Regions from separate parts of the Homo sapiens genome. Here all the other regions are linked to region 1. The links are contacts of gene promoters, found by promoter capture Hi-C in human tissues and cell types (Jung and others, 2019). All regions are on one chromosome and are shown on one strand. The core of a region is centred on a gene start or on the middle of the fragment in contact, and the rest is flanking DNA. Distances in the headings are between cores, read along the strand shown. Region 1 holds the start of MAGI3 (membrane associated guanylate kinase, WW and PDZ domain containing 3). Region 2 has its middle 82 kb from the start of LRIG2. Region 3 overlaps MAGI3 (membrane associated guanylate kinase, WW and PDZ domain containing 3). Region 4 has its middle 140 kb from the start of LRIG2. Region 5 overlaps MAGI3 (membrane associated guanylate kinase, WW and PDZ domain containing 3).

Region 1 (4,731 bases), core at 633-3,132:
TCCCCTCAGATGCACTGTTTCCTTTTCTGAAACTGACTGATATGAACTATATCAAAAGCCTCCCTTGCCCTCTGGCGTCTGGTTGGACTTGGCCATTGACAAGCACCAGCAGGAGACTGGAGGAGGGTGGTGAGTTAGATATAAATCCCCCAGGTCCTTTGCTGGGTGTTTACTTAGGCTGACTGCATCCGTTGACTGAAGGTCACAGACTCCTGTCAGGTGGCCCTGTGTGTCTGGATTTTTCGGTAACTGTTCTTTCCCGATTGGACAGATCTAGGAGCTGTAGCCTCAGGGTTCCAGCTTCTCTTGTGGTTTCCCACACCCTGCCCACATCTTTGCAAAATGCCATTTGTTTCCTGCCAGGACCCTGACTGATACAATGGTGTCAACGAAATCACTGCAGCTATTGAAGCTTGGTCCAGTCTATCTGAGGTGTGGAGTTTTATAAGGGCTTTCACCTACTATTAAAGGGAGACAGGAGACTACACAAATAAATGTCATGCTGCAAAAGTGAAACAAAGATCATAGCTCAGAGAAAACACTTTCCACTTGAGGGCAAGAAATCAGAGAAAGCTACCTGGAAGAGCCGGCATTTGGGATGAGGACGGATAGGAGTTTTAAAAGAGATGAGATGAAGGGCATTCCAAAGACAGGGAAGAGTGTAAGTCAAGCCGGGGAAGAGAGAAAGCTCAAGTGAAATTTCTGAAAAATTAGAGCTGGAAGGGATCTACGATATCTTTTATTTAATGTTCGTTCTCCCTTCACCTCCTTTAACTGAGATTTGGCCAAGGTCAAACAGCAAGTAAGTAGCATGTCAGGACTCCAACCAGATCTGCTGGCTACCAGGTTAGTTCTTAATAATCCACCTTCTACCTCCACCCCACTCCCTCACCTCAGGCAGTCTGCTTACTTCTCAGTCTCTCCCACTAGACTGTAACCTCCTCAATAGCGGGGCTTCTGTTTTCTTCACCCTTGAATCCCAGTACCTAGCACAATATCTAACACAAAATCGTCATCGTCATCAGCAGCAGCAGCAGCAGCTACCAAACTTTAAGAGGCAACCACCCACTGTCAGGCACTATGCAGTTATTTTGTACATCTTCTGTAATCTTCACTTTTCACTGAGGACGCTGCGGCTCAGAGAGGTTGTCTAATTTGTCTTAGGTCATACAGCAGTGCCGGACTCTATTTTATAATATCTTTCATCAACCGGACTCCGAAGCCCTGCCTCAATGGGCGTTCAGTAACATCTGTTGAATGAACGAATGAACAAGCAATATCCACTCAATGCAAACTATCGGCTGTAACAGGCCACCCTAAAGGCCCCGGAACCTCGGCCGGCTCAGGACTCCGCACGTTGTCTTCCAATCTAAGCACACCGGCCCCTCTCTGCGCCCCGCACAGGCTCAGAGGCTCCGCCCGCGTCTCCGCCTAACTCGCCGGCCACGCCCCCACTTCGGGGAGCTCGGTCCCTCTCGGATTCGAGTTTTCCTCGGCTCCAGCCGCCGCGCAGAGGGCCTCTCCCGGCCCTGCGACCTACAGCCCCTTCCACTCCCCTGCCCCTCCTCTGCGCCCTCCCTCACTCTCCAAACTTCTTTTTTCCACCCTCTCTAAACTTCAGTCATTCTAGTGCCCGCCTCCTCCACTCGCACCGACCAACCAGTGGTCCCCATTCTCGTTGGCGGTCCGCCTCCTGCCCGCCGGGGGCCAATCCCTGGCGCGAGAGTCCAGGGCCGGGGCTCGTTCCCAAGCGCCCAGCCTGTGACGGCAGCGCGCCGGGCGCCGCGCGGCGGGAGGGGGCGGGGCTCTGGATGAGGGATGGGCGAGGGCCGGGGGAAGGGAAAAGGGAGGAGGAGGAGGTTGCGGCTGGTTTGAAAGCGGCAGTTTCCTGGCAGCTTGGGCAGGCGTTGGTCTCCGCGCTACAGCTCCGCAGCGGCCACGATCGATCCCGCGACGGGTCTACGCGCGCTTCTGCGCGCCCCCCACGGATTTTTCCCGTTCCCGGCTCTTCCCCCTTCACCTCCCCGCCCCCCCGCCTCAGCCTTTCCCGCCGCTCGGGCGCTGAGCCCAGGGACCAGCCGGCGGCAGTGACCCCGCCCGAAGCCCCTTCTGGAACCTCCTGGGGACAATTCCCTTTTCCTTTCTTCAGCCTAACCCGCGGTGGCCCTCGCGGAGTCCGGTCAGCCCCGGGGAGCGCAGCCGGGAGGGGCGTCCAAGGGGCGTCTCGCGTCTGGGAACGGCCGGGCCCCCAGCGGGCTGTGGTCGCGGGGTGGGGGCCGGAGCGGCGAGGCCCCCCTTACCGGGCTGCGCGGGCCGCCCAGGGCCCCCGGGCTGAGACGGGGCCGGAGCGGCGCCCCGGCCGCCCGCGCGGGGTCTCCCCCATGGTGCAGCGGGGTTCGGGATGTCGAAGACGCTGAAGAAGAAGAAGCACTGGCTCAGCAAGGTGCAGGAGTGCGCCGTGTCCTGGGCCGGGCCCCCGGGCGACTTCGGCGCGGAGATCCGCGGTGGCGCGGAGCGTGGCGAGTTCCCCTACCTGGGGCGGCTCCGCGAGGAGCCCGGCGGGGGCACCTGCTGCGTCGTCTCGGGCAAGGCGCCCAGCCCAGGCGATGTGCTGCTGGAGGTAAACGGGACGCCTGTCAGCGGGCTCACCAACCGGGACACCCTGGCTGTCATCCGCCACTTCCGCGAGCCCATCCGTCTCAAGACTGTGAAACCAGGTACGCCGGCCCTGCGTATCTGTCTCGGGGTGTTGGGGAGAGGGGCTTCAGGGTGGGCGTCCTGGGAGCGGCGGCACCTCCCCACCGCGTATTGTCCCGGGTAATCTTAGACCTCTAGGGTGTGCCAGACTCCTTGACGAGGGGGAGGGGTGGCGTTGGTGAGTCCCATTTTGCCGAAGGGAAAACTGAGCTCTGGCTTGGCGCGGTTGCTCTGCTAGCTGTGCTAGCTGTCACAGAATTGCGACTAGAAGCTGGGTTTCCTACATTTGTAGCTCCATCTCCCCCCGCAGACAAGAGTTTTTGACTAGAGAAGGCCAGCCTTTTCCTGTGTTGTGCAAAAAGGCCCTTAGGATTGTAACATTTTCTTTGGAACGATCTTACGCATCTTCTAACAGGGAAAAAGGGACTTTACTATAGAGGCACTTGGTGCCAAGGTTACCACCTGGTGTACCTGGAAGGGCTTAGCTGCTTCAGTGTTTCTTGCACTCTAGCAGACATCTCAGAGCTGACAGCCTAACTCTGTCAGTCCAGGTGGTTCAGGTGTCTGAGTACCGATGACGGTACAATATGTGATATGTGGCAGACTGGTGTGTTCTTGCAGGGAGCTGTTGAATAGAGTCTGGGTTTTGCAGGAAGACCTAGGTGCCTAGCGGAGTGAAAGCTTCTGTAACGCTTTTGATTTTACAGAATTTTGTTGAAGTGGTAGGTTAAAGGAGCCTCTGTTGCCCTGGTATCTTTTATGCTAGTAAAAATTGCTGCAAAGCACGTTATGTTTATGGCATACTCGTCAGTTTCAAAGCATTGATCAGAGACAGCATACAGTGAGATCTGATAGTATGTAGTAGTTCTTATGAATTTGTTATAGACAGCATTGTTGGTTTTGTTTCAGCATAGATAGAATGTGGTTCTGTCGTCTTAGATGTTTGTGGGAGAGAGAATTGTGATTGTAACATTATTAGAAACCAAACTGTTTTTCCTTAATGTGCTCTGCTGAGTATACGGTGCATCAAAATATAATGGGCTGGTTAATTGTTACCTGGGCTAGGTAGCAGTCCATCCCTTGATGGCAAAATGCTAGAAAATTCTGGATAAAAATTTAATATGTTATCTCCTTCTCATTTCTTTCTCAGCAGCTCGCTTTGGAAATATTAATATATCTTTAATAGTCCTTGAGCTTAATGGGGCTTGATGGTTTGTGGTGCAGTTTACATATGTCTGTGTATTGTGGATATGTATACACACAGACTCACATGCTCCTAAGGTCATAATTAAGATTTTCTTTCTATAGCGTATTCCATCGTATTCATTTTAAGTGTATGGGTTTATGTGGTGAGGTTTTCTTTTTATTGTTGTTAATTTTTTAAAACTTTGGCAGACTTTAAACAGCTTTTTCTGTATAGTTTTGAGAATTTGTAAATTTTTTTCTTAACTCTAACTTTTACAGCCATGTGTGAAAGGCAGAGGAAAGACTTTTGGGGCTGTAATTCAGCTAGTCAGGCACTGTCTGTAATATGCAAAAGGCTATATAGACAGCATTTACTAGTCTAGCTGCCAAATCTTAGTTCAAATCCCATGAGTTAGTGAATAGTGAGAACATCTGCATCATTTCTTTGTGTTTTGTTTTGATTCGTTAGGGCATAGATGAGAATATAACTTATTTTTAGAAATTTTAAAGTTGATATATTGACATGGAAGCTGGTGTATTCTAAATTATTGTGATCTTTTTTAGAAGACTGAAGAGATGGCTATTTCATAACATTAGTCTAATCTACCTGTTATACATTTTTCTCAACCTCTATATTATATTTAACAATAATTCAAGATTTAGAGCATTAGTAATATTAACTGTGTTGAATAAACATCCTATGCCCCCGTATGTAGTTGACATTATTAGAGTAATACAGTTTTGCCCTCTTGACAGCCACAGACACTGTTCTATTTTAAAGATTTAGCCAAAATAAAGGGAATAACGTATTAATGGCCACAGAACATTTTGTAGTCATTAGTAATAAAG
Region 2 (4,731 bases), core at 634-3,133, 240 kb before region 1:
CAATAGAAAATGTCTCTGGCCGTCTTGAACAAAGAGGAAATTTACTGGCAGAATAGTGGAGGCTTCCAGAATCCACAAGGGAGAAGCTGAAGAGCTGGGCCTGGAAAATGGGGCAAGAGCCAGAAGGACTTCAGTGGTCAGGCAATGGAGCTGCAAGCAGCACCGCCCCATAGAAATGCCTGGGCCTGGGCACTGTTGCAGCCTGCCCTTCTGGCTCTTGTCCAAGATTCAAAGTCTAGCAGAGAGCCTCCAATTGGCCAAGGCTGTGAATCACTCCCCTTCTCCCCACAAGCTGGGGGCCAGGGAGATGAATGATCTGACCACTTCAGCCCCACAGCATAAGGGAGGCATTACACAAGTGACAATTTCTCCAAAAGAGAAATTAAGGCAACAATTTGAAGTTGGAATTCGGGGGAATGCTGGATACCTAACAAAAAGACAAATGTAATACAGCAGGGCCAGATTATGAGGGGGAAAAAGCCAACACAGAGAGGAGGGAGAAAGCAAGGGAGGAGCAGAGAAGAGAGCAGAGCCACTGCCTTAAGCTCATTCTGAAGCCACAGAATCTGTGGATTTCCAGTTACATGAGCCAGGGTGACTTGGATTTTCTCTTGCTTGCAGCCAAATGCATCCTAACTGATGCAGTAGCGATTACGCATGAAAGCCAACTAGAGATAGAAAAAGGCAAGGAAACCAGTGAGAAGAACTTGGGTCTAGCCCCGTTTCTGCCAGATGCCTCTTAGCCGAAGCATTTGATTTCTGAACCTCAGTTTTCTCCTTTTTTCACAGAGTTGCGAAGTAAAATGAAGGATATAAGAGCCCTGTATAGACTAAAGTGCAAAGGACTTCCCCATAGGCTCTTATGACCAAACAAGACAGAAGCAAAAACATGGTAATAAATGAACAAACAGATGTTTTCTCAAAGGCTTTAATATTCCAGGTTCCCATCTGGCCTAAGTTTTCATGAGTTCTTTATACTAGGCATCTGGGTGGGAGGTAGTGGGGGGTAAGAGAAGGAAACATTTTGAAGTAGAATTAGGTCAAAGCTAATCATTACACAGCGTGTAGATTTTGGGAATTTGCTTTTCCTTTTCTCTCTATTCTTAAAAAGCATTGGAGAAACTGTAGGAGGGAAAGGAAGGAGGGTGGCAGATGTTTCCCCCTCATTCTCTTATTTTATCCTCACAGCAGCCCTTGGAGGTAGGGATGATTACCTCCATTTTTCAGAGGTGGAAATGGTTCAGAAAGGTGAAGTCACCCACCGTAGGTATGAATTTGAACTTAGTCCCAACAGATGTTAGATGCCAGGCTCTTCAGTACACCTCACCAACTCCCAGGAAACATAAAAACATACTCCATTATATTCCATTTGGTATCTGAGCTTCAAAAATTTAAAGGAAGCATACAGAGGGTTGAGGGAAGGAATTGTTCCCTCAGGTTAACTCCAAACATTCTTTTTCCCTAAGGGAGGCAACTGTGGTATCAAAAGAACATGGCCATATATGTAAATACCAAGGATATCTTTAAAGAATACTCAAGAAACTGGTCACAGTGAGTGACTTGAGGGTGGCAGGAGAAGAAACTGGGTCACTTAGGGATAGGGAAGAGAAAAACTTTCTTTTCATTGTTGGCCTTTTCCTTCATTTCTTTCAATTAATAAACATTTTTAGAGCAGTTTTTACATCACAGCAAAATTAAATGGAAAGTACAGAAATGTCCCATGTCCCCCATCCCCACACACGGACAACCTCCCCCACTATCAACATTCTGCCCCAGGGTGGTCCATTTGTTACAATCTATGAACCTACATTGGCACATCATTATCAACCAAGGTTCATAGTTTACATTAGGGTTCACTCTTGGTGTTGTACACTCTGTGGGTTTTGACGAAAGTGTAACGACATGTATCCACCACTGTGTTATCATACAGAGCCGTTTCTCTGCCCTAAGAATCCTCTATGCTCTGTCTGTTCATCCCCTTCTTCCTCTCACCTCTGGCAGCCACTAATCTTTTTATTGTCTCCATAGTTTTGCCTTTTACAGAATGTCATATAGTTGGAATAATAGAGAATGTAGCCTTTTCAGATTGGCTTCTTTCACCTAGTAATATGCATTTAACTTTCCTTCATGTCCTTTCATGGCTTGATAGTTTATTTCTTTTTAATGCTGAGTAATATTCCATTGTTTGGATGCACCACAGTTTATCCATTCACCTACTGAAGAACATCTTAGATGGTTCCAAGTTTTGACAATCATAATAAAGCTGCTATAAATACCTGTGTGCATGTTTTGTGTGTACTTAAGTTTTCAACTCCTTTGGGTAAATATCACAGAGTACAAAATGCTGGATCATATGGTAAGATTATGTTTAGTTTTGTACAAAACTGCCAAACTGTCTTTTTTTTTTTTGGGCTGTAGTACAGTGGCACGATCTTGGCTCACTGCAACCTCTGCCTCCTGGGTTCAAACAATTCTCCTGCCTCAGCCTCCCAAGTGGCTGGGATTGCAGGCATGTACTACCACACCCAGCAAATTTTTGTATTTTCAGTAGAGACAGGGTTTCACCACGTTGGCCAGGCTGGTCTTGAACTCCTGACCTCAGGTGATCCTCTCGCCTCGGCCTCCCAAAGTGCTGGGATTACAGGCGTGAGCCACTGTGCCCAGCCCAAACTGTCTTTCAAAGTGGCTGTACCATTTTACATTCCCATAAGCATTTCATGTTGTCAGTGTTTTGGTTGGCCATTCTAATAAGTGTGTAATGCTATCTGTTTATGTTTTAATTTGTAATTTTTGAATGGCATATGAAAATATGCCCTTGTTGAGCATCTTCCTTCCCTTTTTTCTTTAGAGACAGAATATCATTGTGTTGCCCAGGCTGTAGTGCAGTGGCTATTCACAGTATTCACAGGTACAATCACAGTGCACTGTAGCCTTGAGCTCTTGGCCTCAAGCAATCCTCCTGCCTCAGCCTCTGAGTAGCTGGAACTATAGACACGTGTTAGGCCATTCTTGCATTGCTATAAAGAAATACCTGAGGCTAGGTAATTTATAAAGATAAGAGGTTTAATTGGCTCACAGTTCTGCAAGCTTTACAGGAAGCATGGTGCTGGCATCTGCTCAGCATCTGGGGAGGCCTCAAGAAGTTTACAATCATGGTGAAAGGTAAAGGGGGACCAGGCACATCACATGGTCAGAGCAGGAGCAAGAGAGAGAGAGTGAGTGATTGGGGAGGTGCCACACATTTTTAAATGACCAGATCTTATGAGAACTCACTATTACAAAGACAGCACCAAGCCAAGAGGGATCCACCCCTATGATCCAAACACCTCCCACCAGGCCCCACCTCCAGCATTGGGGATTACAATTCAACATGAGATCTAGGTGGGACAAATATTCAAACTATAACAGCATGTGCCACCACACCTGGTTTGAGCATTTTTTATATGCTTACTTGCCACCTGTATATCTTCTTTGGTAAAGTGTCTGTTCAGGTCTGTTGCCCATGTTTAAATTGTTTTTTTTTTAATTGTTGAGTTTTAAGGGTTCTTTGTAAGTTTTGAATTACGTTCTTTTATCTGATGTGTCTTTTGTAAACATTTTCTCCCAGTCTATGACTTTTTTCCTTATTCTGTTTTTGTTTTTTTATTTTTTCAAGACAGAGTCTTGCTCTGTCACCCAGGCTGGAGTGCAGTGGTGCGATCTTGGCTCACTACAACCTCTGCCTCCCAGGTTTGAGCAATTCTCCTGCCTCAGCCCCCCAAGTAACTGGGATTTCAGGTGCGCACCACTACACCCAGCCAATTTCTGTATTTTTAGTAGAAACAGGGTTTCGCCATGTTGGCCAGGCTGGTCTCGAACTCCTGACCTCACGTGATCTGCCTGCCTTAGCCTCCCAAAGTGCTAGGATTACAATGTGAGCCACTGTGCCCAGCCCCTCATTCTCTTGATATTGTCTTTCAAAGATAAGTCTTTAATTTTAATAAAGTCCAACTTATCAATTATTTCTTTCATAGATTATGTCTTTCATGTTGTATTTTAAAAGTTATCACCATACCCAAGGTCATCTAGGTTTTTTTCTTTTATCTTCTAAAAAATTTATAGTTTTGTGTTTTACATTTAGGTCTATTATCTATTACAGTTAATTGTTGTGAAAGATGTAAGCTGTGTCTAGATTCTTTTTTTTTTAAGCCTGGACAACATAGGGAGACCCTGTCTCTATAAAAAAATTAAAGAACTAGCTGGGCATGGTGGTGCACGCCTATAGTCGCAGCTACTTGGAAGGCTGAATTGGGAGGATTGCTTGAGCCTGGGAGGTCAAGGCTGCAGTAAGCCATGATCATGCCACTACACTCCAGCCTGGGCAACTAAGCAAGACTCTGTCTCAAAAAATAAAAATGGATTGTTTTTTGTATATATATGTTCATTTGTTCTGACGTATTTTTAAAAGATTGTCTCTGCACTATTGTATTGCCTTTGCTCTTTTGTCAAAGATCAGTTGACTACATTTATGTGAGTTTATTTCTGGGCTGTCTTTCTGTTCCATTGATCTATTTGTCTAGTCTTTCACCAATACCACAATGTCTTGACAACTGTAGTTTTGTACTATGTCTTGAAGTTCGGTAATGCCAGTCCCCTGACTTTGATTTTTTCTTTTTTTCTTTTTTTCTCTTTTTGAGACTGAATCTCACTCTATCACCCAGGCTGGAGTACAGAGGCGGATCTCGGCTCACT
Region 3 (4,731 bases), core at 1,022-3,521, 220 kb after region 1:
AAATGGAAATGTCACTTTAAAAGATTTCTACAAAAACACTACTGATTGAAGATGATACAAATAGGCAAACCCAGACTAATAGCAAGAAAATGGAAGAACCGATACTGTTTGTGTATCATATATGACCATATATAAGCTTTTTTCAACTTCAAGGTAAAATCATGATAATTGCTTGTTTAATCACCTCCTTTAAAAACATCTATTTTTGTATATGTTTTATTATATACATATTAGAAGAGGGGCAGATGTCAGATTTTTTACTAAAAAGGCTACATGATCAAAAAACCTTGGAGATATTATGTAAGACCAAATTAATCTTTCTAAAACTAATTTTCTATCTATCTCTCCCTTGCTGTCCATTGTCAGCAGAGTAAAGTCCAGACTCCTTGGTTAAGTATTAAAGATTTTTTATAATTGAATCATATTCTATATTTATTTTTCAAAGTATTCTCATGTCATAAATCTGACATATTTTTCGTCTTTGCCATATACCCATTTCTTCTGCCAGGAATCAGTCTTGTTTCCTGTGTCTACCTGGCTCATACCTATTATCCTTCGAAGCTCCAATCTAAAGTATAATTTCTTTGTAGCCCCTTCTGTCATTTTCTTGCAAGTCAGAAGTAGACGTCCTCTCCTCTGTGCTCAGTAGTACCATATGACATGTCTCTCTTGTAGCAGTTATATTGCATTGTAACTAGATACCACACTCAGAGCAATGATTTTTGACACATTCATCTGTATATCCTTTCAGTAGAGACTTCAATGTTTGAAAAGAGGGAAAGAGGGAAGAGAGGGAGGGAGGGAAGAAGGGAAAAGGAAGAGAAAGGGAAAAAAAGAAAGAAGCTACTCTATCCTCCAGATTATTTTGGTCGCCCTTTTGGAAATACTTTTCAATCTCTATAAGGCTCTGAGGGGCCAATAAATAATAAGCCCGTCTTCATTCACCAGTTTATAGTCAATAGAGAAATAAGACACCAGAGACAGACAGATGAAGTCAGAATGTCAGCAAATGAATGTTAGCCCTGCATGTACATGGCCTTGCTGTTATTTTACCCCTGCAGGAGGGAGACATGAGTACTTAGTCTTTGGCCTCTGTGTTCAACTGCAAGCCTCCTCCCAACGGGCAGACATGGCAGAGAACAGACCAGAATACGCCTCTGCAGGCAGGCTGTTAACCAAAACAGTGAGAGAACTCAAGAGTCCCTGAGCCAAGCATATTGAGTTCATTGTGTAAAACTCCCCAGTCAGATAAGACATTCTTTCTTCCTTGGGGAAGAAAGTGAAGGGGCTCCGAGAAACTGGAAATGTTCCTCCCATTCTTTATTCTCTAAGGAATTTGAAGAATTGGATGAACATTTCCCCCTAATGCTCTTTACATTAAGGCTGAACATATGTCTTGGTTGGCCCAGGACTGATCCAGCTTTTTCCTGTTGCCCCAACATAATTATTAATAGTATCCCCTTTTATTCTCAAAAGTGGACAGTACATTTTATGATCATCCTAAGTATATTTTTCTTAAAATAGAATGATCAAAATTGCATTCAGTATTCTGGGAATGTTTGAAACTCTTTAATATGGGCTACTCTCCCACTTACAAAACTGGGTACACCTTTTTAACATTGCCTATACTTATCTTCGGGGGAGCCTACAATTTAGAACATTGAGTCTATTTGTTTTATGCTCAGCCAGCCTTTTCCACTTTCCTCTCTACACTTTGTCTCCCCACGTAATAGCCCCACGGAAGACTATTTTCAGGATGAACTATGTGTGATTCATATTAGTATTCTCTGCAGTGCTTTGCACAGAGTAGATGCTGAAAAGAGAAGAATAATATTTTAAGTGTAGGTTTTATAGGTTAAGATATTGTTTACATTCTGCTGAACATTTAAGATCTTCTAGAAAGACCTTACAGTTTCTAAAACATGCCCTTTTCTTCCCAGTCTTCTGATATTCTGAACACAGCTGTGTATTCAAATACAGTGTAAGGACACAGCTTGAACAGCTTGGTTTAATTGATGTACATTTTATCTTCTATTCAAATAAAATAGTGTTTTGGTTAGGTAGTTGTCTTGAAAATACAACATTAGGAATTCGTTTTACCCTCAACCCATCCCATTTCTCTTATGATGAAAGAAAGATTAAATTTTTGCTAAAGGCAGCTTACAAATATATTGAATGTTGATATTTCAGAGCTTAGAGAATGATTAAAAAAATTATCAACTGAATAGAGCTCCACCATGAGAAAATAATTGTAATTCTTACATTTAAACAAGAAAAATCCTATTTGGGGAAGAGGAAAGAAAGATAAATTCATGGGATTTAGAACCAACCAGCTGCTTGATATGCCCAAAATAGTTTTGTCTTTTGAAATAGCTTTTTAGGGGAATACTTTGGCTTCATACACAGGAAAAGATGGTTAGGTTAGGTCTTTCCTGTATCAAAAATAAACAAACAAATTTTCTCTTGGCCCTAACCCTCCCCATAGTTTTTATACTATCTTTTCCACAAGCAAATTTTTGTTTTAAGTCATCTATTCTTAAGGACTCTACTTCGTATTTTTCTCTTCAGTTACTACAGTATTCTGACTTTTGCCTCCTACCTTTTCAGGGTTACCAGTAACCTCCTGATCTTATAGACTCTTTTTAGCCCTTATCTTTATGCCTAACAGCTTTACAAAGCGTTTTTTTGTTTGTTTGTTTGTTTGTTTGTTTTGAGACAGAGTCTTGCACTGTTGCCCAGGCTAGAGTGCAGTGGCGCGATCTCGGCTCACTGCAAGCTCCGCCTCCTGGGTTCATGCCATTCTCCTGCCTCAGCCTCCCCAACAAAGCGTTTTTTAATGCTGACCATGCCCTTCCTCTTCTGTCTTCTTTTACACCATTCCCCCTGATGATTCTTACTTTCTCCATCTGCCGCTTAAAATGTTAGTGCTCCTAAGGTTCTGTTCTTCACCTTTCTCTGCTCAGTTTATCTAGGTAATCATGTCTGCTGTCATAGCTTTAACTACAATGTCTCTCAAATCTTTATCTTCTTATATTTCTCTTTGGAGTACCGGGTTCATACGGCCAAGAGCTTGTTATTTATCTGTACCAGGATGTTCTACAGATCACTCAAATGTAACACCTTCCCTTCCTGCCTTCAACAGATATGACATCCCCCCAGCTGCTTGAGCCAAAAACTGGTTGTCATCCTCGCCTTTCCCTCACTGTCTCCTCTCTGTTGCAGTTAACTACCAAGTTCTATCAATTCTAACTTTTAAAAACCTGCCATTCGGGTGGATCACGAGGTCAGGAGACCAAGACCATCCTGGCCAACATGGTAAAACCCTGTCTACTAAAATACAAAAAATTAGCTGGGCATGGTGGCACGCACCTTTAGTTCTAGCTACCCGGGAGACTGAGGCAGGGGAATCACTTGAACTGGGGAGGCGGAGGTTGCAGTGAGCTGAGATCATGCCATTGCACTCTAGCCTGGCGACAGAGGAAGACTCCATCTCAAAAAAAAATAAAAAATAAAAACCTGCCATTTCTTGAGTGTCCATTGGTGGTAGACACATTACTAGGCACTTTTAATATATCATCTGTCTCCTAAATTCCTCTAAATCCACATTAATTTCTAATTTCTATTCCCACAGCCATTTTCATAATTATTCTTTTTTTTTTTTTTTTGAGACAGACTCTCACACTGTTGCCCAGGCTGGAGTGCAGTGATGAGATCTCAGCTCACTGCAACCTCCACTTCCTAGGTTCGAGCAATTCTCCTGCCTCAGCCTCCTGAGTAGCTGAGATTACAGGAACCTACCACCACGCCCAGCTAATTTTTGTATTTTTAGTAGAGATAGGGGTTTCACCATGTTGCTCAGGCTGGTCTTGAACTCCTGACCTCAAATGATCTGCCCACATTGGCCTCCCAAAGTGCTGGGATTACAGGCGTGAGTCACCGTGCCGGCCCATTTTCATAATTATTCAATAAATATTTGATAATGTATCACTTTTATGCCACAAAAGCTAGAAACCTGGGAATCATCTTTGCCTCTTTCCTCCCTTCCCTTCCTCAATCCTCATGGTAGTCATTAAGTTCTGTTACTTTACCTTCTTTGTTTTATTATCCATTCTACTACCCCTGCCTTAGTTCCAGTCTTCACAAGTTCTTATGCAGTCTATTAGTGTTTATCTTATTTGTCTGCCTTTATTCTCATTGCACACCATCTATTTCGTCCTTTATTACTGCTTCCCATAATCTTTTTCAAATATAAATTAAATCATGTCACAGTTCACCTTAATCAATTCTCTATCATCGTCAAAATAAAGATCAAACTTCTCAACACAGCACTCTAAGAATGTTGGAATTTTGTGCTTGTTCATAAAATTCATTTCCCTTTGCATACAACTTTCATTCTAGTTTACCAAATTATTTGTAATTATGGAAAATACCAAGCATTCTTAATACCTCAATGCCCTTTAATCTATCTGGAATCATCTCCCTCTCCCTAATCCCAACTTATTTATTTATTTATTTATTTATTTATTTATTTGACTCGGTCTATCACCAGGCTGGAATGCAGTGGCACGATCTTGGCTCATTGCAACCTCCACCTCCTGGGTTCAAGTGATTCTCCTGCCTCAGCCTCCTGAGTAGCTGGGACTACAGGCGTGCACCACCACACCCAGATAATTTTTGTATTTTTAGTAGAGACGGGGTTTCACAATGTTGGCCAGGATGGTCTCGATCTCT
Region 4 (4,731 bases), core at 1,306-3,805, 170 kb before region 1:
CCAGTGGGGAAGCTGTGTGGAGTCTCCAACCTCATATTTCCCCTCCACACTGCCCTAGTAGAGGCTCTCTATGAGGTCTCTGCCCCTGCAGCAGGCTTCTGCCTGAATACGCAGTCTTTTCCGTATGTCCTCTGAAATCTAGGTGTAGGCTCTCACACTTCCTTCACTTTTGCATTCTGTATGCCTGCAGGCTTAACACTACATGGAAGCTGCCAAGGCTTATAGCTTGTGTCCTCTGAAGCAGCAGCCTGAGCTGTATCTGGGGCCCTTTGAGCAAAGCTGGAGCTGGAGAGGGTGATGCAGGCAGCAGTGTCCCAAGGCTGCCCAGGTCGTCCTAAGACTGCCTCAGGCACTGGGGCTCTGGGCCTGCCCCCACAACCATTCTTTCACCCTAGGCCTCTGGGCCTGTGATGGGAGAGGCTGCCCTGAAGGTCTCTGAAATGCCTCTGTGGCCATTTCCCCATTGTCTTCGATTATTAGCACTTAGCTCCCTTCTAGTTATGCAAATTTCTCTAGCGAGTGGTTGCTCCACAGCCAGCTTGAATTCCTCTCCCTAAAAAGCTTTTTCTTTCTCTGCTACATGGCCAGATAATTTTCTAAACTTTTACACTCTGCTTCCTATTTAATTTCCAACTTTAAGTCATTTTTTTGTTCCTGCATTGAAGTGTAGGCTGTTAGAAGCAGCTATGCCACTTCTTGAACACTTTGCTGCTTAGACATTTCTTCTGCCAGATACTCTAGATCATCACTCTTTAGTTCAAACTTCCACAGATCCTTAGGGCATAAACAGAATGCAGCCAAGCTCTTTGCTAAAGCATAATACATGAGCTTTTGCTACAGTTCCCAGTAAGTTCCTTGTTTTCATCTGAGGCCTCAAAAGCCTGGACTTCACTGTCCATATCACTATCAGCATTTTGGTCACAACCATTTAACCAGTCTATAAGAAGTTTCAAACTTTCCCTTATCTTCCTGTCTTCTGAGCCTTCCAAACTCTTCCAACCTTTGTCCATTACCCAGTTCCAAAGCTGCTTCCACATTTTCTGATATCTGTATGGCAATGCCCTACTCCTCAGTATGAATTTTCTGTATTAGTCCATTCTTGATTGCTATGAAGAACTATCTGAGACTGGCTAATTTATAAAGAAAAGAGGTTTAATTGGCTCACAGCTCTGCAGGCTTTACAGGAAGCATGGTGCTGACTTAGCTTCTAGGGAGGCCTCAGGAAGCTTACAGTCATGGCGAAGTGGGACCAGGCACATCACATGACAAAAGCAGGAGTAAGCAAAAGAGAGTGACGGGGAGGTGCCATACACTTTTAAATGACCAAATCTCATGAGAACTCACTATCATGAAGACAGCACCAAGCCATGAGGAACCCACCTCCATGACCCAAACACCTCCCACCAGGCCCCACCTCCGGCATTGGGGATTACAATTCAACATGAGATTTGGGTGGGGACAAATATCCAAACTATATTAGCAACTGTCCATCCAGTGGAATTTTGGTGGCTTCATGGGGAAGACATTCCATCCCTCTCCTTTTCCCATACCTTCCTTCAGATGACCTACCCCATTACCTTCAAAGAATTCCACAGTCACAAAGTTATTCCTTAGGCATAAGACTCTTTGTCTCCTGGAAAACAGAGAATCTCTGGAAGGGATGGTCTAGGTCTTATGAGAGTCAGGGAGAATTGGTGTATGCAATCCTCTGCTGGGGGCAGGCTTTTATGAGAATAAAAGAAGAGGAAGCCACTGTGAGGATGTTCAGAGGAGAGGGTAGAGAAGATGGTGGTGAAAGGGGAACAGTAGGACCAAGGAGCAAAGACAACCAATAATTTGGGGATTTCAGAAACTCTGACATCCTGTCCTTTATAATTCTGGAGGTGCTGCTGAGCCCTGCTGCCTGCTCTGGAGTTTCTTGGCATTTGCTTTGCCTGTTTGCTCATTTACTATCAGCAAAGTAGCTGGACATTTCACCAGTTATCAAGGACTGTGCTAGGTCGGGCAGCACCAGGGGCTACGGACACACAGACAGCCTCAGCTGCAAGGGCCAAACATCGTCACTCCAGAGAGGAGGTCAAGCTCCAAGCTGGCCTCACCTGTGGCTGCCTGAAGACTGGGAAATGCACAGGCTTTCCAGTGAGACAAAGCTGAGTTCAAACCTGGCCCTGTTCCTCTAGCTGTGTGGCCATGGACATTGATTACCCTTTCTGAAGCATAGCTTTACCAATTGTAAAGTGAAGATCATCATACCCAACCCAGAGGGTTGTTAGGAGAAAAAATGAAAGAAGCTTTGTAGCATACCTAATGCAGGGTCTGGATCACAGCAATTGCTGAAAAACAGTTGTCCCCTTCCCCTTCCCTCTTGGCTCTGTCTTCCTGCATTTCATTAGTCAGATCTCTGCGGTTTTCCTAGAACATCTCTAACTGCAAACCACCAACTACTAAAAACCCTCAAGGAGGGGTAAAATGGATAATAGGAATTTCTAGTGACATAAAAGTGATATCATGTTTGTATGTGTAACTATCAATCAATTTCAGAGAAAAGCAGGCTTGCATATCTGAGCAGACACCACCAGCTTTCTTCTGCTTCTGCAGATTGAATTTTATTTTATTAAGAGCAGAACAATGGGCCTGATTTTCCTCTTTGGATACTAAAGAAGACAAATTAGTCAAAAGGAAATTCAGCTGAAACTGTATTTAGTGTTTGAGATCCTAAGCCCCGAGACGGAGCCTCTGTGTGACCTTGAGGAGCTGCGTGCATGCTCACTGCTGGATCCCAGCATGATGTGGCCATGTCTGGGTCAGGAGCACAGGAGGCTCAAGGCCAGTCCAGGGCCTGGTCAACAGAGCAGCACACGCAAAATCAAAGTGACCCTGGGCCTTGATGAGGGACACGCTGCCTTCCTGAGCAGTGCATGCTGCATGAGTGTAACTGATTACCACATTTTTAAAAGAAAAAAATGGATTTTCTTAACCTTTTTCCTTTTCCCCCACCTCCTACTTAGCTCTTTAGGAATGCAATTATAACCTTTACCTTCTCTCCACCAGACACTCCCTACACGGCAAGCTTATCTAACTATGTGTTTACTTAGAAGTTCTGGAGGCTGAACCTTGAAACACAGCAGGCACTTCTGGAACTCTCTCTCGCCAGGAGATTGCCTCAAGATAACAGTTAATTTACAACCTAAATTTTGCCCTAGATAAAATTAAAATTGTCAATTTACAACAGGGCCCTGCCCACAATGGTGCTAGCCAGACCACTTGATAGATAAGACCCAGGAAGCAAGTCACATGGGCCCCACACCTCCTCCCCTACCTCCTACATGAGGTTGACTCCAAGTCCCCCTTTAAAAGCCCCTGCTTTCTGCCCTGAAAGCTGAAGTAATACCCTTAAGGCAGGAGCCTGTACTTCTTCCTCTCAGCTAAGCTCTGGAATAAAAGTCACTTTCTTTCCGCCAGAACTCCTTATTAATTGGACTCTACCAGCCATGAGCAGCCGGATCCGTGGGACTCACTGTCACAACTGGTTGTGGGGACCGTCCCCCACACTGGCAAGTTCAAGTCAACAAACTATGCTAGGCAGTGTTAAAGGTAGAGGGCGAAAAGGGACTATAACATGGTCTCCACCCTCCTGAAATATTAAACACAAGCTAGGTCAGGGATTCTTAATCTTTTTGGTGTCATTGGAAATCAGAAGTATAGACCCCTTCTCAGAATAATGTTTTTAAATGTGTGAAATGAAATGAGATCACAATTGAAACCAACTCGAATGGAGCACACGAGGTCTCATGCACACATGGAGGGAAGTATTATTGCTAATTTAGAGGTATGAGCAGATCATAATGGTCAGGGGGTGTCTGAAAACTTTATGGAGGAGCCGTTAAAGACTTCTACACACAGAAATGGGGGAAGGCATTTCAAGCACAGGGAACAGCATGAGCAATCGTTTGGAAACAAGGGCGTGCAGATGCATTAAAGGGAACAGAATAATCAAGTGAGGCTGGGGCTTTGCAGGAAGCACCCAGTGCTTGTACCTGGGTCCTCTCTCTGTCTCTTAGAATCCTAGCCAATGTGAAAGGAAAATAAATCTTGGGGTCCCCAAATCACTAAGCTAAAGGGAAAAGTCAAACTGGGAACTGCTTAGAGCCAACCTGCCTCCCATTCTATTCAAAGTCTCCCCTATGCTCACTGAGATAAATGCATATCTGATTGCTTCCTTTGGAGAGGCTAATCAGAAACTCAAAAGAACGTAACCATTTGTCTCTTATCTACCTATGACCTGGAAGCCCCCTCCCCACTTTTGCTTCAAGTTGTCCCGCCTTTCCAGACCGAGCCAATGCTCATCTTACGTATGTTGATTGATCTCATGTCTCCCTACGATGTATAAAACCAAACTGTGCTCTGACCACCTTGGCACATGCCATCAGGACCTCCTGAGGCTGTACCATGGGCACGTGTCCTCAACTTTGGCAAAGTAAACTTTCTAAATTAACTGAGACATGCCTCAGATTTTCGGGGTTCACACCGGTAACAGATATGGACTGAGTTTGCACCTGAATTGCCCATGCTTCTGTCAGTCAGGCCACTGGCAATGGAAAAGTGAGCCCCTGGCATCTGTCCACTCAGCAGTGATCTGCTAGGAAGGTCAGAAAAGCAGGTGGGCGTGAGGGAGGCAAAAAGGAGCCCGGGAAGAGGGTGCTTCACAGTAGCTCTGTTTTGCCCCAGGAG
Region 5 (4,731 bases), core at 1,446-3,945, 160 kb after region 1:
TAATGTCTGTTTACAGGTAAAAATCAGACCTATACAATTCTTACTTTGCTTCTATAATCTTGCAATAGCAGAAATCCTTTTCCTATAGTAAAAGGTAAAACAAACAACCTGAAACAGAGGAAATTAAACAAACAAACAAAAAATATGAGAAGATGGAGTATCATTCACTTTAAATGAATTTAAATTTTCAATACTGAAATGTATTGCCTCCCAGGAGTTGACGGACTCAGGTATAATCGTAGGGTTATTGTCACTTTTTTTTTTTTAACAAAATATAGTTTTTTGTTTGTTTGTTTTGTTTTGTTTTTTTTTTACAAAATCACTGAGAATATGGGGTAAATACTTGGAGACAAGAGAGAGACAAATGTCCTAGTTTCCAAAAAGGAATAAAGTATATTGCAAAAACCCAAGACCAATTCCCTACTTTAAACTGTGGTAAAATTTGAAGAGATTGTAAAAAAATGAAATATTGTGTTTAGAAGAGAATGGGATGATCACCATGAATCAATATGAATTTATAAGAATAAGACATGCCAAAATGACCTCATTTTTTTTTTGCTTTATTTTTAGTTGTATAATTGCTATTGGATTAGAGAATAGTAAAGACATGTTGTATCTTGACTTTCGCCAAGTGGTTGACAGTGTTTCCTTAACTATCCTTGTGGAAACATGATGAAATTAGATTGTAATTAGATTGATTTACAGCTGCTTGCCTGGCCATTGCCATGCCCGCATGCCCAGCGTTTAGTTAAATAATAGTTACTTTATATACTGGTTCCTCACAGAGAACTGGTGGTGAACATTAATTTGCATATATTCAGAAAGTATGGATTTGTAGTTAACGAGTTTTTTTAAGGATTTGTATGTTGAAACTTGAGTTCCTGGATTTATTCATGATTGAGGTTTCTGTTAGGGACTTTTTTGCAACCAAGCTGTATTTGTAAGATATATAAATCTGTTTTTAATTTACATATGTAACCTTGACTTATAAATTACTTAGAAGCCAAGGCGTAATATTAGCATTTAGAGCAAAGTCTGGCTATGTTAAGAATGCTAACGTTATGAAGAATCTTTTCTTTGTTCAGTAACAACTATAGTAAGCTCACTTGGATGTTTTTCATACCCTTGAAATGTCATTCCTGTGAACTATCCCTAAACAAAAGGCAGATGTTCATATACAAATTGATAATACAGATATATTCAGCAGTGTCTTTCTGAGTTAATGTGTCTGTTGGCCTTCTGGTAATCCCACAGTCAGCTGCCTGTTCAAGATATTTACATATTTTTTAAAAAAATACAAATTCCCTGGAATCATATCAAAGAGAGAACCATATATTTTGTTCACTTAGGAAGTTCTTTTGGCAGTCCATGATGGCTGCTACATCCAATATATTTTTTAATTAATTGTTACTTTTAGAGAATGCAAGTCCATAGTTAACTTATTAAACTTTCATAATTGATATTTCTTTGATGCTTGTAATATTTTGTTTCTAGCCTCAAAAAAGTGTGATAACTTTTTTGAATACTTGCAGATGTTTACATAAAATATCACATTTATTTATTTGCTTATTTTTGAGACAGAGTCCCACTCTGTTGCCCAGGCTGAAGTGCAGCCGCACGATCTTGTCTCACTGCGACCTCTGCCTCCCAGGTTCAAGCGATTCTCCTGCCTCAGCCTCTGGAGTATTTGGGATTACAGGCACATACCACCACACCCTGCTAATTTTTGTATTTTTAGTAGAGATGGGGTTTAATCATGTTGGCTAGGCTGGTCTCGATCTCCTGACCTCAAGTAATCCAACTGCCTCGGCCTCCCAAAGTGCTGGGATTACAGGCATGAGCCACCGCACCCAGCCAAAATATCACACTTACAAAATTGTCCCTCACACTTTTCTTTACAACTGTTCGTCTCGGTGTTACATCCAGAATCCCAGTAGAAATGAACGGTGAAAAACAGAGTGCAATTCCAGCCTTGGCCTCTGAGTCTTAAGATCTTGTAGGCCCTTAAAACAAGAATTGAGGCCAGGCACAGTGGCTCATGCCTGTAATCCTAGCACTTTGGGAGGCCGAGGTGGGCAGATCATGAGGTCAGGAGATCGAGGCCAACCTGGCTAATACGGTGAAGCCCCGTCTCTACTAAAAAACACAAAAAATTAGCCAGGCATGGTGGCGGGCGCCTGTAGTCCCAACTACTCGGGAGGCTGAGGCAGGAGAATGGCGTGAACCCAGGAGGCGGAGGTTGCAGTGAGCCAAGATTGTGCCACTGCACTCCAACCTGGGCGACAGAGTGAGACTCCATCTAAAAAAAAAAAAAAAAAGCAAGAATTGAGTTGTTTCAATTATTTTGCCTTAAGAGACCCATTATGCTGTAATTTATGATTTTATTGTGGCTTTGTCCTTAATTATATCTAATTTAATGGTTGTTATTTTATAGATTAAAATGCAATCTGAGTTTTTAGCATTTTATAGTTATCTTTGTACGTTATACCATATCTGACAGTAAAGCTTCAAATTTAAAAAAAAAAGGAAATCGTGAGTTAATAAAACAAAGTATTGAGTCAGATTGTCTTTTTAAATTATTCATGTATTATCTTTTATCCAAATTAAGTCTTTTTCTGAAAATATGTTGTATAGCAGATATTTAGATGTCGGAGCCTACATTATGTTGTTTTTAAGTGGGGGAAAAAACAATGATGCATTCTCTGTCCATTCAAAAACCCTAACCAAACTTCCCCAAATATCACAAAACACCTTTAGACAACTATATAGCGATCTACGAAAACTTTTGTATAACATTTACAAAACATTTGAGACATCTCTTACCTGATTTTAAAAATACTTAATGAATTCATTATTTGGTATATTTTTGTTCAATAAGTAATGAGACTATACAGTATTGATTATAAATTAGCATTTTATTCTATCCGGTGATGAATAGTATACTGTATGATTCTGTATTATACATTTAAAAAATGAAATAATATTATTTTTATCTAAATAAGGCTTGGGTTAGTGGGATCCCTAAATGCTTAATAGAAACAACCTCTGGGACCAGAGATTCTTCTGTGTTCATCCTGGTAAATATCTTTCAGGTTTATTAAAATCACAAAGGCTCCCCCTTGCTCAGCATCTATTTTTAGCAAGACAAAAGAAGGACTTTTTAGGGTTTGTGTTTATTAGTTTAGGATCTGAATATGTTTGCTGAACTTTTGACATACACTGATTTCCTGCTTATGTTAACACCGTCTTGCATAGGTTATGTTCATTTATACATATGAGAAGAGCAAAAGAGGGAGTTAGAAATGTAATATTGTGGAATAATAGTTAAAAAAATTAGCTGATCAATAGTATTTGGTTTATCTAAGCTTGTCATAAGTGCGTTGCTCTAAATAAAAGAGTATACTTTAATCAACTGTTCTTATTCAATAAAATAATCTATTTTGCCTTAGCATTGATTTTTTCTAATTATCTGAAGCCTTGTCTAATGAACAATGGTTTGGACTGTTTGGAGTTTCATTTTAAGTTCAACCCTTACTATAAATTCATTGCTATCAGATTTCTGCAATCCTGTTTTTTCTGCTTAATATTTCTTTGAGAGCCCTTATATCTCTCTATTTATTTCCCATTTTCCCCACAAATAATAGAAAATTTTTGACTTTCTTAATTATTCACATTGTATCTAGGAGTCAAGCAAGTGGACAGAAAATGCCTGTTCAATCTAGTGATAGGAAGAGGACCCTAAGGTAGGGCCAGTTTGGCCTTTTCGAAGATCAGAAAGATGGCCAAGAATAGGTGGAGCAGTGTTTGACAGTGGGAAGAGTGACCAAATTAGGATCAGGGATGGCTGGAGCCAGAACATGTAGGGCCTTCTAGTCCCTGTTCGGGATTTTAGATTTTGTTGCAAGTATAAGATATCTGAGGGGACCCTAAACAGAGTAGTAATTATCAGATTTATGTTTTAAATCTCACTCTGGCTTCTAAGTGGTGGGCAGCAGGAAGGAGACAAGAATGATGCCGATTAGAAGGCTGGGACAGAATTCCAGATGAGGAATCAGTGGTGGCTTAGATTAGGGTGGTGGCAAATGAAATGAAGAAAAGTCAAATATGTCTTGGAAGTAGAACCGACAAAAGTTGCTAATGTGTTGGATCTGGATGGGTAGAAGTGAAAAGGAGAAATCAAGGATGACTTCTAGATTTCGAGATTGTTTTGCAAGTTGATGGTGCCTTCTACAATAGGGAAAATGTTGGGGAGGAAACATTGGGGGCAGATGGAATTAAAAGTTCTGTTTTGGCTATCTGAAACTTGAGGTGCTTATTTGACTTCCAAATATATCTGCAATATATATGCATCAGTTTGATGAGTTTAGAGCTTGGCAGAGGTAGATCAAGGATGGATACATGATATGAATGTGGAAGTTATCATTATATAGATAGTATTTAAAGCCATGGGACTAAATGAAATTACTCTGAATATTTTTGTCACCTTCTCTGACCTGTACCTTCTCCCTCCCTTACCATGTAAAATTATTCCCACATTATATTGCAGGTACATATTTTAATTATAGTACCTATAAATAATTTGGTGTTCTTTTCTTTTTAGTAAAATTCTCTGATTTCTTTATCCTGTTTATAGCTAACTGGTTTAAGAGTATTCAGTTACTAGCTTCTATATTTAAGTGAACGTCTAAAAATTATGCATTTATTTTCTGTTTTTTTTTTTTGTCTTTGCTC

What was found. The method cuts DNA at HindIII sites, captures the fragments that hold promoters and counts their contacts. A contact is called where the count stands out against the background at its distance.
Region 2: a fragment that was not itself captured here is called in contact with the fragment with the promoter of MAGI3 in region 1 in 1 of the 25 tissues and cell types used here (H1 embryonic stem cells).
Region 3: a fragment that was not itself captured here is called in contact with the fragment with the promoter of MAGI3 in region 1 in 1 of the 25 tissues and cell types used here (hippocampus).
Region 4: a fragment that was not itself captured here is called in contact with the fragment with the promoter of MAGI3 in region 1 in 1 of the 25 tissues and cell types used here (thymus).
Region 5: a fragment that was not itself captured here is called in contact with the fragment with the promoter of MAGI3 in region 1 in 1 of the 25 tissues and cell types used here (hippocampus).

Annotation. Positions count from the first base shown.
Region 1 is chr1:113,388,633-113,393,363 of GRCh38, forward strand. MAGI3 (membrane associated guanylate kinase, WW and PDZ domain containing 3) reads left to right here and starts at 1,883. Exons shown (of 21, transcript NM_001142782.2): 1 at 1,883-2,717. The coding sequence starts at 2,402. RefSeq lists silencers at 215-459, 1,449-1,498, 1,529-1,888, 2,299-2,428, 2,489-2,648 and enhancers at 2,329-2,828, 2,879-2,928. The HindIII fragment of the contact is 4,324 bases long and covers 178-4,501 here.
Region 2 is chr1:113,153,096-113,157,826 of GRCh38, forward strand. No RefSeq gene overlaps it. Among named protein-coding and RNA genes, the nearest start is that of LRIG2, 82 kb to the left of the region's middle. The HindIII fragment of the contact is 7,078 bases long and covers 1-4,731 here.
Region 3 is chr1:113,607,440-113,612,170 of GRCh38, forward strand. The region is part of intron 6 of MAGI3 (membrane associated guanylate kinase, WW and PDZ domain containing 3); the gene reads left to right. Among named protein-coding and RNA genes, the nearest start is that of PHTF1, 150 kb to the right of the region's middle. The HindIII fragment of the contact is 7,685 bases long and covers 1-4,731 here.
Region 4 is chr1:113,214,829-113,219,559 of GRCh38, forward strand. No RefSeq gene overlaps it. Among named protein-coding and RNA genes, the nearest start is that of LRIG2, 140 kb to the left of the region's middle. The HindIII fragment of the contact is 3,324 bases long and covers 894-4,217 here.
Region 5 is chr1:113,544,781-113,549,511 of GRCh38, forward strand. All of the region lies in intron 1 of MAGI3 (membrane associated guanylate kinase, WW and PDZ domain containing 3), which reads left to right. Among named protein-coding and RNA genes, the nearest start is that of MAGI3, 160 kb to the left of the region's middle. The HindIII fragment of the contact is 4,969 bases long and covers 212-4,731 here.